5 separate regions of the Homo sapiens genome follow, and regions 2, 3, 4 and 5 are each linked to region 1. The links are contacts of gene promoters, found by promoter capture Hi-C in blood cells and fetal thymus (Javierre and others, 2016). All regions are on one chromosome and are shown on one strand. The core of a region is centred on a gene start or on the middle of the fragment in contact, and the rest is flanking DNA. Distances in the headings are between cores, read along the strand shown.

Region 1 (3,434 bases), core at 481-2,980:
GTGATCCGCCTGCCTTGGCCTCCCAAAGTGCTGGGATTACAGGCGTGAGCCACCGCGCCCGGCCAAACATATTTTTTTTTTTTGTATTTAACTTACCACAAAGCCCATGAGAAGGCAGACAGTTCTGAAACCATATTCTGGAATCTCTGCCCTGCAGGTCCCTAAAGAGTTAACTCAAAGCCAGATACCCAATGGAGGCTCAATTAATGTGAATTAGAAGCAACAATGAACCAAATCCACAGATAACATTACTCACACTAGATTGAAAAGTGTAATCTAGAAATATTAAGTGTGAAAAAGTTTCTCAATTATAGTTAAATCAGAATTCTTTAATATGTAAAGGCAGTGAACGGAATGTTAAAAAAAAATGGAATGTCACATAACTTCTATAAATTAGGTGGTAGAGGACACCAGTTATGATGCATTTCATGAACCCCTACTCAAAAAGAAGCTACTTGTTGAAACAAAATATGAATTTAAGTGTTTTTTTTAAGTGTTTTTTTGGGGGGGAGGGGCATGGTTGTTCTCTTCCAAAAACTGAAAAAAAAAAAAAAAAAAAAGACGAAAAGAGCATATATGTTATGCCCTTTTCAAAGCAAACCTTAGGTCTTATTGGAATTGTTTCCTAATGCTATATAAATGAGACACGTGAGGCAATATACACTCCCCCACAGATGAATAACATAACATTTAGGTTACCAGGGCCTTTCACAATCTAACCTAACACCACTTTCCCAGGTTCATTTATCACTGGTTTCTTCTCAATACCTTCTGGTCAAAGACCACCAGAAGCACACATGTAATTGACAAACGGGGTTTATTATTCATTGCAGTAAGGGTTCTCTGTAAAATATTAGAAAATGCTTATTGGATTTGGGATTTTTTTCTCCTAATATTGGCTACCTTACCAAATCTTAGGAGGAAGAAAGGCTAGATCAAGGCTAAGATTGTAATTGGTAAAGAAGCAGAAGTCATCAAATTAAACCAGATAGGGTGATGTCCGGTCATTTTCGTGGCTTGGACAATGTTTTATCTGTGTTCAGATGTGATTACACAGTGATCATATTCTTTTCTTAATGAACACTGTCAGAGTGGTCTTGTTGGATGCTAATGCTTGCTGAAATTGTGTACGTTCATCAGGCGGACACCAGTTCCTAGTCCAGGCTAGCTCCAGGTGTCAGAGGCCACTTTTCCCTTCTACTCCTCACACATGCTGTACTCATACCAGACTTGAGTTTTCCCTGCCCTTTGTTCTTCCTTCTTTTTTATTCGATTCCCATTATCTTTAGTGATCATTCCCTTAGCATTTCAGTTTTCTCTCTGAAGTCCTTTGTGCTGCACGTTGTTTGATTACTTGTGTTTATGCTTTGTTTCTTCAGCTAGGATCATTAGCACATATCTCTCAGCATTGGCAAAAGTCCTCGAAATCATTGACACCTAGCATATACTTTATTTTTAAAAAAGAAAGAAAGAAGAGAAAAGGGATGGGTTTATTGTCCTTTTCAACAGACTAGAGTATACGGGGTGAAACTGCTTCACTTGATTCAATAAAATCGTTTCCGGTAACAGGCCCCAGGAATCCTAGACCTAAGCCTGGCGCGAAACTACATTTCCCACAATCCTTCGGGGGCTGATAAGGCTCCGCAATGGTCTGAACTACAATTCCCACAATCCAGGGCGATTTCCGCTTTGTCGCGTTTCCTCAAGGCTCCGCCCCATTTCCCATCTTTCTTTTCAGTCCTTGCGCACCGGGGAACAAGGTCGTGAAAAAAAAGGTCTTGGTGAGGTGCCGCCATTTCATCTGTCCTCATTCTCTGCGCCTTTCGCAGAGCTTCCAGCAGCGGTATGTTGGGCCAGAGCATCCGGAGGTTCACAACCTCTGTGGTCCGTAGGAGCCACTATGAGGAGGGCCCTGGGAAGGTTAGTGTGTAAGGGGCACGGCTTCGTTGGGGGAGGGGGCGCTTGGCTGTGACTCGCGCACCTGCAAGGCCGCCTCCGGGCTGTGGCGTGGGAGATGATAGCCAGAAACCAGGCTGAGACGCAGACTAGCATTCCACTTAGCCCAAGGACCAGTGAGGAAGCTGGGCATCCTAGCGCGTAGCCGCTAAAGGAATGGGCAGGTAGATCCGGAAGCCCTGCCTCCATCAGCCACCTGACGCCCCCTCCCCCGCCCCGCAGAAAGCCCTGAGATGGCTCCGGGAGGCCACGGCTGTAGGTGTGTTGGTTAAATCCGAGCTGGAGGTCATCGGACCCGAAATGAAGGTCATTGGAAAATCATGAGGAAATCAGGGCCTCTGGTTATGGAACAGGCTTTTTAAACTAGCTGCCTAAGTTAGAAGTACTAACCCTTCACCTCAGTTAAGGCTGGGTTTGGCCTCAGGTGTAAATAACTTAAACCACATAGCAGTAACAATCTCGGAGGGTCACACGAGGCCTAGTCATAAAGGCCAGAGAAGGTGCTTGGTAATGAAAAACAAACAAACAAAAAAAACTGTGGGCCAGGTGCGGTGGCGCACGCCTGTAATCGGGAGGCTAAGGCGTTCGGATCACCTGAGGTCAGGAGTTCCAGACCAGCCTGGCCAACATGGCGAAACCCTGTCTCTACTAAAAAGTACAAAAAAATTAGCCGGACGTGGTGGTGTGTGCCTCTAATCCCAGCTACTCGGGAGGCTGAGGCAGGAGAATCGCTTGAACCCGGGAGGTGGAGGTTGCAGTGAGCCGAGATCGGGCCACTGCACTCCAGCCTGGACAGAGCGGGACTCCGTCTCAAAAAAAAAAAAAAAGAAAAAAAAAGAGCTGTATTGCACTTAACATTGCCATGTATCTTCTAAGGTGACTACTTAGGACAGTAGTTTTTTCGATTTTCTAAAGTAAGAAACTTCTCACTATTTGACGTTTGAGTCCTCAAGACCATTCATTGCCTAGTGCTTAGTAAAGCCAGATTATTTCTTGCCATGTAGTGTTTTGTGATGAAGGTCATAGGATTTGAAAGATAAATGTTTAAAACGATGTTATGATTTATGGCATATGTTAACCTGATGATGTAAAATATAACTAGCATTTCCTGTATACTTGTATTTTGATTATTAAGCAGATGATTTGAGATTCAATTTCGATTACTTTTTCTCTTTTTTTCCAACAGAATTTGCCATTTTCAGTGGAAAACAAGTGGTCGTTACTAGCTAAGATGTGTTTGTACTTTGGATCTGCATTTGCTACACCCTTCCTTGTAGTAAGACACCAACTGCTTAAAACATAAGGATGTTTCAGTTCCTCCATTTAACAGGTAGTTAGTGGATTTCTAATCATGTTAAAGCAGGCCTTTTTATTAAGTAGCCTCTTCCCCATCACCCAGAACACACACACAAATACATTGTTGTGTAGGGCTGATTCCTGAGGTTATGTGTAGATGTGGCATTGGTGGAGACTAGTTG
Region 2 (3,434 bases), core at 559-3,058, 2.9 Mb before region 1:
GCTAGTTAGAAAGCTGCTCTGCTACTGAGAGATCTTTAATCAAAAGGTATAAATGTTCCCCAGAGCATGAATATAATTATGTTAAGATCTAAACTCCACAGTCAATATACTATAAGGCATTTTATGTATGCTTACATGTTTTTCCAATTGTGTATCAGAGCCCAGATGATAAAAAAGGTTTTACCACCCATTCAGATCTAATTTTCCTGTCCTGCTCACCAATATGCCAAAAATTCAGATTTGTGATTCACGGGAACATTCTGCTACATAAATGAAATGTGTAAACAAATAAATACCTGATTTCTGATATACTGAATATTAAATCAATCATGTTCCATAGTTTCTGATAATAAGCTTAACAACCAATTATACTATTGATAACAATAGGAGCATGAAGCAAACAACACTTCTATTTTAACATTAAAAGCAGAGTACCAAAATGCTTCCTGCTGGTAAACTGAAACAATTGTTTTATTTAAAAACTACACCTTCACACCTGTAATCTCAGCACTGTGGGAGGCCAAGGTGGTTGGATCATGAGGTCAAGAGATGGAGACCATCCTGGCCAACATGGTGAAAACCCGTCTCTACTAAAAATACAAAAATTAGCTGGGCATGGTGGCTCATGCCTGTAGTCCCAGTTACTTGGGAGGCTGAGGCAGGAGAATCACTTTAACCCAGGAGGCGGAGGTTACAGTGAGCTGAGATTGCGCCACTGCACTGTAGCCTGGGTGACAGAGTGAGACTCCATCTCAAAAAAAAAAAAAAAAAAAAGACAACCACCACCACCACCACAACAAAAATTACATGTATCTACTCTGATACTGCATACAAATAAAGACTTTTCTTTTTAAAAGAGAAAAGAATGGATTTCCAATTATTGCCAATGTGTCATGCCTGAAGGACCCTTTTCCCACCCATCAGTTTGAGGTGACAGTTACTGGCTTATAGCAATATCCATCATGATTCAAAATTTAGAATATTATTATGCAGAAGTCACATACTGTTCACCTCTCATCCTCACCATGGACACTGTCATCTGGTGCAGGCAAGGAGGAATAGAGAAAGGAGAAAATTTTGCAAATGAGGAGAAAAAATTGCCAAGAATACATAGTAATATAAATTAAGGTCACATTTTGTTTTATACCAATTACAGTAAATTGGTATTTTCCTTTAAATGTTTATGTCTCAAACTCTCCTTTCAAACTTTTTTTTTTTTTTTTTACTTTTAGGCAGCTAATGCACTACCATTCATAATGACTATTAGACTAAGCTAGGTTTCAATTTTTGCTATGATCTATCAGTTTAAGGGTGCAGATAGTCAACGATGGCACAAGGCTCCTCTCATTCTGCTCTCTGAAAATTAATTTGAAAGAGTAACCATATGTAATGAAATAAGGACACAGTAAAAGAGTGCAGATGATTAATGCCTTCTATTTTCAAAATAAAGTTTTTCAACTCTGCATTAACATTTATTTTCCTTATCTCTGGTGCACTAGCTATTAGTTTAATAAAAGGAGACCTTCCCAGTGACAAGGACATTATCTTATTAATTTCTGTAATTCTGTTACACTATCAGTCAAGAGGTTTACTTTCAAGTGATGTTAATATAAATGAGAGTTTTCCTTTTAGTCTTATAGTTCCAAGGCTCAAAGCCTGTATATGGATTGTAAAGCTAATACTAGACTAATTGCAATGTGACTTGAGAGCTAGAATAGAACCATCTGCAAAATTTGGAACGATGTGACAAAAATAACAAAATTTTGCAGGAAAAACATAATGCTTTGCATTTAGAAATAGACGTCCCAAATATGGAAAAGCTATTAAACTTATTTCGTGTAGCTTCACAAGGCAAAACTGGACCAAGTGGGTGGAAGTCAAGAAATCAAATTTTGCACACTGTCAGGAAGAATTTCCTAATAAGTCATCTAAAAGTGAAATGAATTGCCCTGTGAAGTACACAGTGCTTTCTGCTACCGCAGGTGTTTAGGCAGATCAACAAACATCTGCCTATTGTATTACACAGGGGATTTGAGAGTAGGTGGGTGTTTGGAACACATTTGGTCCTTTGATCTCTACAGTTTCAAATCTGACCTTTCAGCTCAGAATTTTGAAGGATGTAAAGATGGATAAAACAACTCATTAACAAAGACACTATAAATAAATAAAAGACATTTTAACAGTTGATTATATTCAACACATGAAAAAGTATATGAGGCGGGGCACGGTGACTCACGCCAGTAATCCCAGCACTTTGGGAGGCCGAGGCGGGTGGATCACCTGAGGTCAGGAGATCAGGACCAGCCTGGCCAACACGGTGAAACCCCGTCTCTACTAAAAGTACAAAAAATTAGCCAGATGCAGTGGTCCCAGCTGCTTGGGAGGCTGAGGCAGGAGAATTGCTTGAACCCGGGAGACGGAGGTTGCGGTGAGCCGAGATCGCTCCACTGCTCTCCACCTTGGGCGACAGAGCGAGACTTCGACAAAAACACACACACACACACACACACACACACACAAAATCTATATGAAGTAATCGAGGTACGAATAAAATATTAAGAGAGAAATGAGAAAGAAGTGACTAATTCCAGCTAGTGGCACAATGCAAGGTTACCGGGAGGAAGTGTTACATGAATGATGCAAGCATGAGCCATGTTTCAGGTGGGAGGGATAAAATGATAAGGGATTCCTGCTTGAGAGAAGTGTGTAAGCTCAGAATTAGAGGAGTAGAACTGCATAAATGTTTGGGAAGAGAAGTTAGATATCCTGAGAGATTTTAATGATTGAAATCTTTGTGATAAATTTGGCTTTTACTTTGGCCTGCCTTTCATGGCTTAAAAAAATAGATATAACATTGTCAAATATCCGGTATAAATTATAAACTTTTCAGTCATCATTTTTCTTTTTATAACTTAAAATCACATTAGATAGTGATAAAGATGGATATGAACATCTCAAACTGCTTCCAGAATTTTGTCTTGTTAGCAATAAGACTGTAGAGCATCTACAAAAGACGCAGGAACTGAGTCCCCACTAAAATTTATCTCAGCACAGCATCTTCAGGGAGCTAGGCACACTGATAATCCCTCTAGGCTTGAAGGGTTTGGTCTCTCAGAGAAATAAGGCCATGAAGATAAGGGTTACTCAGAACATAGTCAAGCCAACCCACTGATTTTTGGCATTTCTTAAAGTGGAAAGAAAAGGAAATTTTCCAACTAGCTGATTTTCTTACTCGTTAGTCTGTCTAGTGTCTTTTGTTTCTGGAAGCTTTCAATATGCCCTCTTTTTTTTTCCCCCAACAGTTTTCCTTTTTTTTTTGAGACAGTCTCGCCCTGTTGCCCAGGCTGGAGTGCAGCGGAGCAATTTCAACTCACTGAAGACTCCGCCTCAACCTCCCAAATAGCTGGGACTACAGGCATGCACTACCACACTTG
Region 3 (3,434 bases), core at 665-3,164, 2.8 Mb before region 1:
AGATGTTTCTTTGTCTCTCTCTCTCTTCTTGGTCATCCCTATTCCCTGAGATACAATATATTGAAATTAGGCCAATTAATAGCACTACAATAGCCCCTAAGTGTTCAAGTGAAAGGCCACTTTGCACGTCTGTCACTTTAAATCAAGCACTAAAAATGATTGAGCTTAGTGAGGAAGGAATGTCAAAAGCCAAGATAGGCTGAAAGCTAGGCCTCTGTGCCAAGCAGTTAATCAAGTTGTGAATGCAAAGGAGAAGTTTCTGAAGAAAATTAAAAGTGCTACTCCAGTGAACACACAAATGACAAGAAAGCAAAAGAAACTTCTTGCCAATATGGAGAAAGTCTGAGTGGTCTGGATAGATAAAACCAGCCAGAACATTCCCTGAAGCCAAAGCCTAATCCAGAGCAAGGTCCTAACTCTCTTCAGTTCTATGAAGGCTGAGAGAGATGAGGACACCAAAGAAGAAAAGTTGGCAGCTAGAAGAGGTTGGTCATGAGGTTTAAAGAAAGAAGCTATTCCATAACATACCAGTGCAAGGTGAAGCAGCAAGTGCTGATGGAGAAGACGCAGCGAGTGATCCAGAAGATACAGCTAATATCATTGATAAGGCAGCTACACTAAACAACAGATTTTCAATGGAGATAAAACTGACTTCTATTGGAAGAAAATGCTATCTAGAACTTTCTTTCTTTCTTTTTTTTTTTTGAGACAGAGTCTTGCTCTGTCGCCCAGGCTGAAGTGCAGTGGCGCAATATCAGCTCACTGCAAGCTCCGCCTCCTGGGTTCACGCCATTCTCCTGTCTCAGCCCCCCGAGTAGCTGGGACTACAGGCGCCCGCCAACTTTCATGTCTACAGAGGTGAAGTCAACACTTGGCTTTAAAGCGTCAAAGGACAAGATGAATCTTTTTTTTAGGTGCTCATGCAGCTGGTGACTTACAAGTGGAAGCCAATGCTCATTTACCTTTCCAAAAACCCTATGTCCCTTGAGAATTATGCTAAATTTATTCTGTCTTTGCTCTATAAGTGGAACAACAAAGCTTGGATGAGAGCACATCTGTTTACAGCTTGGGTTACTGATTATATTAAACCTACTGTTGAGAGCTACTGCTGAGAAAAAAAAAATCATTTCAAAATATTACTGCTCATTGACAGCGCATCTGGTCACCCAAGAGCTCCAATGGAGATGTACAAGGACATTAATGTTTTTATACCTGCTAACAGAACATCCATTCTATAGCCCATGGATCAAGAAGCCATTTCAACTTTTAAGTCTTATTATTTAAGAAATACATTTTGTAAAGCTATAGCTGCCATAGGTAGTGATTCCTCTGTGGATCTGGGCAAAGTTAATTGAAAATCTTCTGGAAAGGATTCACCATTGTAGATGCTACTAAGGACATTTGTGATTCATGGGAAGAGGTCAAAATATCAACATTAACAGAATTTTGGAAGAAACTGATTCCAACCCTCGTGGATGACTTTGAGGGATTCAAAACTTTAGTAGAGGAAGTCACTGCAGATGTGGTGGAAATAACAAGAAAACTAGAATTAGAAGTGGAGCTTAAAAATGTGACTGGATTGTTGCGATCTCCTGATAAAACTTGAATGGATGAGGAGTTGCTTCTTAGCAAATAGCAAAGAGAGTGGTTTCTTGTGATGGAAACTTCTCCTAGTGAAGCTGCTGTGAGCATTGTTGAAATGGCGATAAAGGATTTAGAATATTCCACAAACTTAGTTGACAAAGCAGTGAGAGGGTTTAAAAGGATCGACTTTAATACTGAAAGAAATTTTACTGTGGGTAAAATACTATCAAATGGCATCACATGCTACAGAGAAAAAGTTCAAGAAAGGAAGAGTTAATCAATGTGGCAAACTTCACTGTGACCTTATTTTAAGAAATTGAGGCTGAGCATGTTGGCTCATGCCTGTAATCCCAGCTCTTTGGGAAGCGAAGGCAGGGGAGGATCACTTGAGGCCAGGAGTTCAAGATTGGTCTGGACAAAATAGTGAGACCCAGGTGCTACAAAAAAATTAAAAAATAAGAACAATTAGCTAGGCATGGTGGTGTTTGTACTGTAGCTACTTGGGATGCTGAGGCAGGAGGATTCCTTGAGCCCAGGAGTTTGACACTGCAGTGAGCTATAATCATGCCACTACACTCCAGCCTGGGCCACAGAGAGAGACTATGTCTCTTCAAATAAGAAAGAAATTGTTACAGCCACCCCAATCTTCACCAGTCATCACCCTGATAAGTCAGCTGCCATCAACAATGAGGCAAGACCCTCCACCAGCAAAAAAAATATCACTCACTGAAGGTACAGATGATAGCATTTTTTAGCAATAAAGTATTTTTAATTAAGATACGCATTTTTTTTAGATATAATACCATTAAACACTTAATAGACTGCAGTATATTTTAAACACGACTTTTATATGCACTGGGACACCAAAAAAATGGTGTGACTCACTTTATTGTGATATTTGTTTTATTGCAGGGGTCTGGAATGGACCTGCAATAACTCCAAAGTGTGCTTGTAATTTTAGTCACCCTTAGAATTATACCCATTGAATGAGAAGGTGAATGCTTATCTTATAGCAGCATTTGTCAAGGTGGACCTATGACATTATTCCTGTTTTTTCTTTTCATTTAGAAGTCATCTGATTTCAGTGTGTCTGAGATGTCATGGTGCATATGAGGCCTATATAGGACCAAGCCCCCAGGCACTCTTAGTCAAGGTACATTTCAATAACGTATTGTAAATAGGGCTTCTCAGGCAATCAGGTTCCCTGGAAGCTTTGAGTTAGGTAATGGATCTAGTAGAGAGCAGCTTAGAGTAGCAGGTGTTGGGACAGATTAAGCCTCAGGCAGAACCACTGCCTAAATCACTAACTCTGCCTGACACAAAAATTTTATTTATTTATTTATTTATTTTTTATTTTTTTGAGATGGAGTCTTGCTCTGTTGCCCAGGCTGGATGCAGTGGCGTGATCTTGGCTCACTGCAACCTCCGCCTCCCGGGTTCAAGCCATTCTCCTGCCTCAGCCTTTTGAGGAGCTGGGATTATAGGCATGCACCACCATGCCCGTCTAATTTCTGTATTTTTAGTAGAAACAGCGTTTCACCATGTTGGCCAGGCTGGTCTCAAACTCCTGACCTCAGGTGATCCACCCACTTTGGCCTCCTAAATTTAAAATGTATCCAGGTTACTGTTGAAACACCCGTCGTTTGGAGGACGTCTGAACAGAGCAAAAAAAGGACAAAGCTATCCTGTATAAAGGATACATAAAGCTGGAACCAGCCCAACAAAAAGGTACTGCCAGAAACTCTATGAAGTAACTAAGATAGGGATCATTTTGGTCTTAACAGGGATTATGAATGAGAAGGAGAGATTTAGGCAAAAGGCTCATCAGCTAGGTCAGACCCACATGTAGA
Region 4 (3,434 bases), core at 528-3,027, 2.7 Mb before region 1:
AATATGACCAGAAAGGAGAAGATGAGGGGAAAAAGAGAAAGAAAAAAAAAAAGACACGTAGATGAGGATCTCTATGTAATAAATTGGCAAATATTTTAAAATATCACCTCTGGGCTGGCCCCAAATCCCTGATGTCAATTTAAGGTGCAGGAAGTTGGCAAATTAGTGATGATTTTTATCTCAAAGAATGGCGTACTTGACCTACTGGAGCTTGCAGATATCACTTCAAAATAACATTTGAGCATTTTCTAATTCAATTGCTCTAACTACTTAGCAATAGAATCAGATAATCATTATTATACTAATTTTAAACGCTATCCTTTGTCTTTTAATATATCTTATTCAGTTATTTATCTCAGACCATTTATTTCAAGAGATGGTTGTTTTATCCATGAAATACAGCAACTACTTTTAAAACTTTCTACTGATAAAAAGGTCATTCTTGATATTTCTAGTAAGTACATATATTTATTCTGCTATAACTATAGGATAAATGCCATTTTATTTTGTAGTTAATTATCTCTTTATTTTGACCTTTTCATGTTTCCTAGAGATATTTTCCTTTATGTATTGTCATCTTAAGGATAACAATATTCTAGTTTGTTGAAATAATTAAGTACAAATCACAAGACAACAGGAGTAGAAGAAATGCTGCTGCATTGTTAGTAAGGCACTTGTTTCTGTTTTGTTTTTAACATCAATCTTATGTTTTCTCAGTATATATGTTAATTATTTGATACAAAAACAATCACTGAATATAGAAATAGAATTGACATTCTAAAATTTTAGTTGGCTATATATAACTGGTTTTATTTTGGAAACAGGGTTAATAACAACAAGCAAAACGTGATAAACAAATAAATTTAGAAAAGTGGAAGAATAATATTTATGGAGTTTCCATGCACCAGGAGAGCAGATTAAGCTTTAGAATGGGCCTTCAAAATAAATAGCTGACTTTTTTTTCACATATGTGATTGCATAGATGATGTGTGTATATAGGAATATGTGTGTATATATGTATGCATCTATAAATATGAATATATATAATTACATATACATAATAATATATGTTTATATATAACATATATAATCTTTTTTATATAATATATAACCTACATTAATATCAGTAAATTACATTATAGTGTATGTGTATGTGTGTGTGTGTGTATATATATATATATATATATATCTCCAAGAAGAGAAACATCCAAGAAGAAATTAACTTAAAGTGAATTGAAACTTTTTTTTACATTTCAGAAATCAAAGCCTGCAATTGTGACTTTAAGATCATATGTATGCCAATCACCCATGACCCTCAGTTTACCTATATAGCAAACCTGCACATGTACCCTGGAAACTAAAATAAAAGTTTAAAAAATGTGTTGCAGTTACTTGATTTATCAGTTTTAAGTAATTCTTTCTTATGAAATGTGAGCAAATCAGGGCACTAAAGCTTTCCCCCTTCTTCCCTCACTCCATCTCCTGTTTCTTTGTTATTGATTCAAATTATTCCTCTATTCCAAAATTCCTGTTGTTATACTTTAATTTGTCCTTACAAACAGTGGCCCAAATCAAAAGCTATTGTACTTTATATGAGGGTTTCTCTCATGCTGTAAAATGTTATTTTCTTCCAGAAATGGAGAAAAACATTTGCTTATATGTGAAAACAAGTAAAATTCATGAAACAAAACAAAACTAAAATAATAATTTCATAATTATAGGACACTTAAATGTGGTAACAGCATTGTCAGAAGCTGGGTTCTTAGAGGTCTCAGGAAACATCAGTGCCCAACCTAGAAAGTATTTATTTACTCTGTGAATGGCAGCTGGTCCTTTCTTCTCTGAGGGTAGGTTGTCAACCGATATATCTTTGAATCAATACCATTTTGAAGGAGTCACCAAGTTAATTTATCCTTTTAGTGTCTCCTGTATATGGATTGACAGCTAGGCAGACAGCAAGAGTATAAACCTGTGTTTCTTAAGATAAAATAGTTGGTGGGGAATTCTAGACTACTGTAATTATTATCACTGTAACTTAAACATAATGGCAGGTTGCCTTTTGATTCAGACTCTGATGGTGTAAAGGGATTTGAAAAATGAAACAAGCTTTCAGTTCCCTGTTTACAGAGGATTGAGTTGGCATCACATAGGCAAAGCAGGGACAAGATTTCAATAAAACTGACAGAAATAAAACGTCTTAATTTCCATTTATCCATAATTATGATTGTCATGCTGATTAATCACAGGCCATGTCTTAAGCTTCTCAGGATTTAGGGACAGGTGAAATTGTAATAATACCTTTGATCAATTATTGGGTGTTAATTATTCTAAATGAAATTGGTCCTCTTGACCCTTTCCTTGTCACACAGGAAAAGGTTCCTGCTTTGTCCTCTTGAGCCTCGTTTTGTTGGAGCATCTGCTTCCATTGGCTCTGACAGGAGCTCTTTCCTTAGGGAATCCCGTTCTTGCCTTTTTCCTTCTAATTATTCAGAATGTTTCCCTCTTTCCTTTAGCTACCTGCATCAAGCAAAGCTGTATTCAGTGATTTCTCCTGAGATGACGCTCTGCTGGCAACTCACCATCGACAACACAAATGTGACAAGAAGTCATCTAACAACTTGAAACTATAAACAAGAAAAAGGTATACCCATGAAGCTTAAGCAAAGAGGATATCCGTGTAGTAGGCTTCCTGGTGTTTCAAAGATCTTCCAGAAAAGGGACTTTATTATCTTGCACTCAGTGGGTGCTTAAAATATACTCTTTGATGATACCAATGATGATTGTTTTAGTTGTGCCTCTTTCAAAGGAAATACAAGGTAATCATTATGGCTTTTCAGCTGCTGAGTTGGGCAGCCTTTCAAATTTGTTTGCTGCTTATTCAATTTTCCTTAATATTAGCTGCACATGGAATAACCTGGGGAAGTTTAAAATATTGATGCCTGGATCTCATCCTCAGAGATTCTAACTTACTTGGGCTAGCATGTAGCCAGGACCTTGGGATTTTAAAAACCTCTTAGGTGATGTGTACATGCCAGCAAGGTTGAGAATCATTGTCTAAATTGCATTAGCTGGTATATGCTGGGTGCTTTGGTGCCAGCCCTGTGCTAGGTGCATTACATATGGCATCTTGTTTGCTCAGCAAAACAATGCCATGAAGTTGCAATTATTACCTCCATTTTGCAGATAAGGGGAACCAAACTCAGACAGGCTCAGTGAATTTTTCAAAGTCACATGGCTGGCAAACAGTGAAGGAAGGATTTCACCCAGGTATGTCCACAGTTATATGCTGCTGACCATCTTCACTGGCAGGTTTTTGGCCAACGTAGAACTCATGGCTGGTTACATGTTGTGCATGGTGTAAGGGAGATTCCTTTGTTGCCAGGAGGTTGAGCTGGTCAGTGTTTTCCAACCTTTCCTAGTGATGAGAATTTTCT
Region 5 (3,434 bases), core at 689-3,188, 2.1 Mb after region 1:
GGTTTGTATGATTCAAATGCATGTAAACCACAGTGCACTAGTACAGTCAAGACTACCATTTTCTACATAAAAGCCATTTAATTTACAGTGATTTGTATAGTTCAGGCAAGGTACCTGACTGGCTTACTTTCTAACAAAAGTATTCTATTATTTACTCTGTATCTTGAATTTCTTTTTTATAGGCAGTTACAGGTTATATTTGTATTATGCTTGATATATAATATACAAAGGCTCCCTGTAGAGGAGAAGGCTGCACATATAGAAACTTAGAGCATGAATTAGGAGATATGCAACCCACTGCATGCCTACCGCCTAGTAAATAATACTCTATTTTGTACATCACTTGGATTTTATCAAATGTAAATTTTAAAATTACCTTTGGTTGGTTGGATTGTCTATTCATTTTATGCTTCTTTGCAGTCTCATCTGAAAAATAGTCAAGAAAACAAATGATCACAGTTTATATATATGTATACATATGAAGTCATATAGATATTGCTTCATTTAAAATATTGCTATTAACATGATTCCTTAAAATGCCAGAGATTCCATAAAACCCCAGTACAATGTATCCTAGGTCTCAGCACCCACGGGGTTAAATATGCTAATTTGCATTCAAATGGAGACATGCATGATAATGTGAATGCAAAATATGCAGAATCTGGAGGGGTTTGAGAAATTAATTTTTCTTTCTTCTTTTCTTTTATTTTTAGCTTGGAAGGAAGAGGGACTCTTAAAAAAACATTAGGGACTTGAACCTTGTAACCTGCCATACAAAAGAGGAGAGTCCTTCCATGTAAGGATTTTAAGTCTGGAACAAAGTCTTATTTTCTAAATGTTTAAGGAACTGAATTTCCAGGCCTTTCGAACAATGGCAATCCCTGGATAAATATCTACTCCATTAGAAAGATGCAAATAGTTTACTGTAAGGCCACAGCACCGTGAGATGTGCATTCATATCTATGGCTCCTGATTGGCTCTTTCCTCCAGTAAATCAATGAATAATGTAAAACCTGATTGCTGTAAAGTGGTGGATTTTTGAAAATTTCCCTTCCCCCATTCCCTCTCGATCCAACATTCAGGAATTCAATACTCCCCAAAATAGGTTGTTTTTCTTTTATGATTTTTTAATGCTTATTGTTATTTTGGACTGGAGGGGTGGGGCTATTGGTTTTGCAAAATGAAAGTATTGCCCTGGTTTAATTATGCTGACTGTGGGAGCTCGCTTCCTGAGACAGCGCCCTAATTACCGGTGCCAAGGTGGAGAAAGGAGGGTGGTAGACAGAGGTGGACACCAAGAAAGGGAGGAAACGGAACCCGACTCTGCGGTGCTGGGCCCAAGGCAGCCACAGCTCCAAAGGGGCCCCCGGCCGTGGCCGTGACTTGACAGAGCCTCCGGTCTAACTTCTGATCAATTCCACTGCTCTCCTGACCCCTCAAGACAGTCCCCCATTCAAGCACCGCGGGTACATTTGCAAGATAAAACGCCGCAGACACTAATGCAAATACATTGCCCGAGTTCCCATCACCCTGGGTTCCTGCAGATAATTCCAGGCCACAGAAAGGAGTTCTTGCCTTCCTCAGCCGGGTCTAGACTCTAAGCAAACCGCAAAGACCTAGCTCCGTTTGGATACCAGAAGCGTCTTAAGCTGAACCGCTCCAAGTACCAATAACTAACCATGATGGTTGCATCTTGATGAATCTGAACTTGGGATAACCCTGTAAAGCGGCCTCTCACCTCCCAAAATTCAAAAGGCAAAGAGAAAAGGGAAGTGGAAAGCCACCAGATCTACTTAGCTACTGTACTAAGTTTTCCACCAAAATCTAATCAGACCCTCGCTTCCTTGCCAGGTAATTGCAACTTTGGGGCGGTTAAAGGGAGGCGAATTCTTCAAAATGCGAATTCGAATACAGAAGTGCAAAATACAAGTGCATTTTGCTCTAGGTTTAAAAGGGAAAAGCCCCCCCAAACACACCACCACCACCACCACCACAAAATTACATACAAAAATTCCCTTTTCCAACGCGAAGATTTCCTGGCATCTCTCTGCGATTGGGGGTCAAGCCGCTGGATAATTAACAGTACTGGCTAAGAAAACTCACGAGATCAACAGGTTTAACATCCGAGGCACACAATCAATTAGCTGAAGCAAAGCCCCGGACTGGCCCTCGGAGCGGCCCGCAGCGGGACTCTGCGGGCACCGGCTAGCGGGCGAGGTGAGGAGTGCGGGCGCGGGGCCGCGGCGGGCACTGCTGGCCTCGCGCCGCGGGCGAGCTGCAGCCTGAGGGCCGCCACGATACTCACTTGATCTCCCTGCGCCAGGCAATGCTGCCCCCCAAATCCAGCTGGGCAGGAACCGAGGCGCCGGCTGAAAGACAAGATCCAAAGTCACAGCACGGCCGCAGCACACAAACAGGCTTCTTTCGGCGTCTCCAAAAAAAAAAAAAAAAATGTTTTTCTCATCATTCCTCTCCCCTGCTCAACACATTTAAAACTGCCGCTCAATTCCACATGGTGATTCTTGGTTGATTGCGTCTAAAATAGTTTAAATGGGTCTTCCCTTCTGGGGAGAGGGAGAAGGGCGCAAAAGACCAAGGAGTAAAAAAAAAGCCAACTTTTACCCCCCATGCCAGGCACTTGCTCCCTGAGCCTCGGAGTGGAGAGTGAAGTGGTGTGTGCGAGGCTTGGCAAGTTTTTGGGGGGGCTGTCCAAGGTCTAGTCCAGCCCCCTCTGCCGAGGAGGACGTGCTCTGAAACTCAACCAATTTCCCCACTGCTTTTGTTACTGATGAACTGAAGCCCTATTGTTCATCCATTGCCACGGTCTTTTTCAGTCCCCACACTACGTTCTGCGTTGCCAGAGATAATGAATTTGCACCCAAACCTCTCATAGTCCCCTCCTGACAGACGGAACAAATTAGAAATGTCTCGTCTGAAGGAAGGCAATGGCTACATTTTCCTATTGTAGGATGCAAAGCACACATTTCTTTGGAAACTTCTTTTGCTTTTTTCTTTTTTTTAAAATCCTTTTCTTCTCTTTTTCTTTTTTCCTCCAGTTTTTTTTTCTCTCTCTTGGTTTCTTAAGATTCTTCTTTTTTTTTTATTACAGAATCTCCCTGTCGTTTTTCCAATGCACTGTTTTATGTAACTTGTGAGTCTTCCTAACCTTCTTCCCCTTCTTTCCTCTCCTTTCTTAAGGACTCCCTTTGCAATTTTATTTACAAACTTGGAGAATGACCTTTTGACTCGCAGACTTTTTTTTTTTTAAAGGTCTTTTGGTTCAAGTCCCCCTTCTTCACTCCTCCCCGTTTGTGTCGTGGTTGTTAAATGTGTTTAGCTAAAGACAAGCAATGCATTCTAAAGAATTTTATTCTCTAAACTCTAGAGGTATTCTAAATGTACCAGGGACGCGCCATAGGGGTCATCTATTTGAG

Evidence for each region. The method cuts DNA at HindIII sites, captures the fragments that hold promoters and counts their contacts. A CHiCAGO score of 5 or more calls a contact.
Region 2: a fragment that was not itself captured here is called in contact with the fragment with the promoter of COX7C in region 1 in 1 of 17 cell types (M2 macrophages); the score reaches 6.6 in M2 macrophages.
Region 3: a fragment that was not itself captured here is called in contact with the fragment with the promoter of COX7C in region 1 in 1 of 17 cell types (M0 macrophages); the score reaches 6.1 in M0 macrophages.
Region 4: a fragment that was not itself captured here is called in contact with the fragment with the promoter of COX7C in region 1 in 3 of 17 cell types (M2 macrophages, M0 macrophages and endothelial precursors); the score reaches 10.0 in M2 macrophages.
Region 5: a fragment that was not itself captured here is called in contact with the fragment with the promoter of COX7C in region 1 in 1 of 17 cell types (total CD4 T cells); the score reaches 8.4 in total CD4 T cells.

The regions. Positions count from the first base shown.
Region 1 is chr5:86,616,211-86,619,644 of GRCh38, forward strand. COX7C (cytochrome c oxidase subunit 7C) reads left to right here and starts at 1,731. Exons shown (of 3, transcript NM_001867.3): 1 at 1,731-1,920; 2 at 3,143-3,286. The coding sequence starts at 1,846. The coding sequence ends at 3,259. RefSeq lists enhancers at 1,399-1,478, 1,490-2,155, 1,542-1,836, 1,769-1,858, 2,156-2,821. The HindIII fragment of the contact is 5,230 bases long and covers 1-3,434 here.
Region 2 is chr5:83,699,440-83,702,873 of GRCh38, forward strand. The region is part of intron 1 of HAPLN1 (hyaluronan and proteoglycan link protein 1); the gene reads right to left. Among named protein-coding and RNA genes, the nearest start is that of HAPLN1, 20 kb to the right of the region's middle. The HindIII fragment of the contact is 2,913 bases long and covers 353-3,265 here.
Region 3 is chr5:83,840,747-83,844,180 of GRCh38, forward strand. No RefSeq gene overlaps it. Among named protein-coding and RNA genes, the nearest start is that of HAPLN1, 120 kb to the left of the region's middle. The HindIII fragment of the contact is 1,757 bases long and covers 1,037-2,793 here.
Region 4 is chr5:83,909,633-83,913,066 of GRCh38, forward strand. No RefSeq gene overlaps it. Among named protein-coding and RNA genes, the nearest start is that of HAPLN1, 190 kb to the left of the region's middle. The HindIII fragment of the contact is 653 bases long and covers 1,452-2,104 here.
Region 5 is chr5:88,670,660-88,674,093 of GRCh38, forward strand. It overlaps MIR9-2HG (MIR9-2 host gene), which reads right to left. Exons shown (of 4, transcript NR_152235.1): 2 at 377-426. Among named protein-coding and RNA genes, the nearest start is that of MEF2C-AS2, 3.8 kb to the right of the region's middle. RefSeq lists enhancers at 1,006-1,618, 1,619-2,232. The HindIII fragment of the contact is 7,016 bases long and covers 1-3,434 here.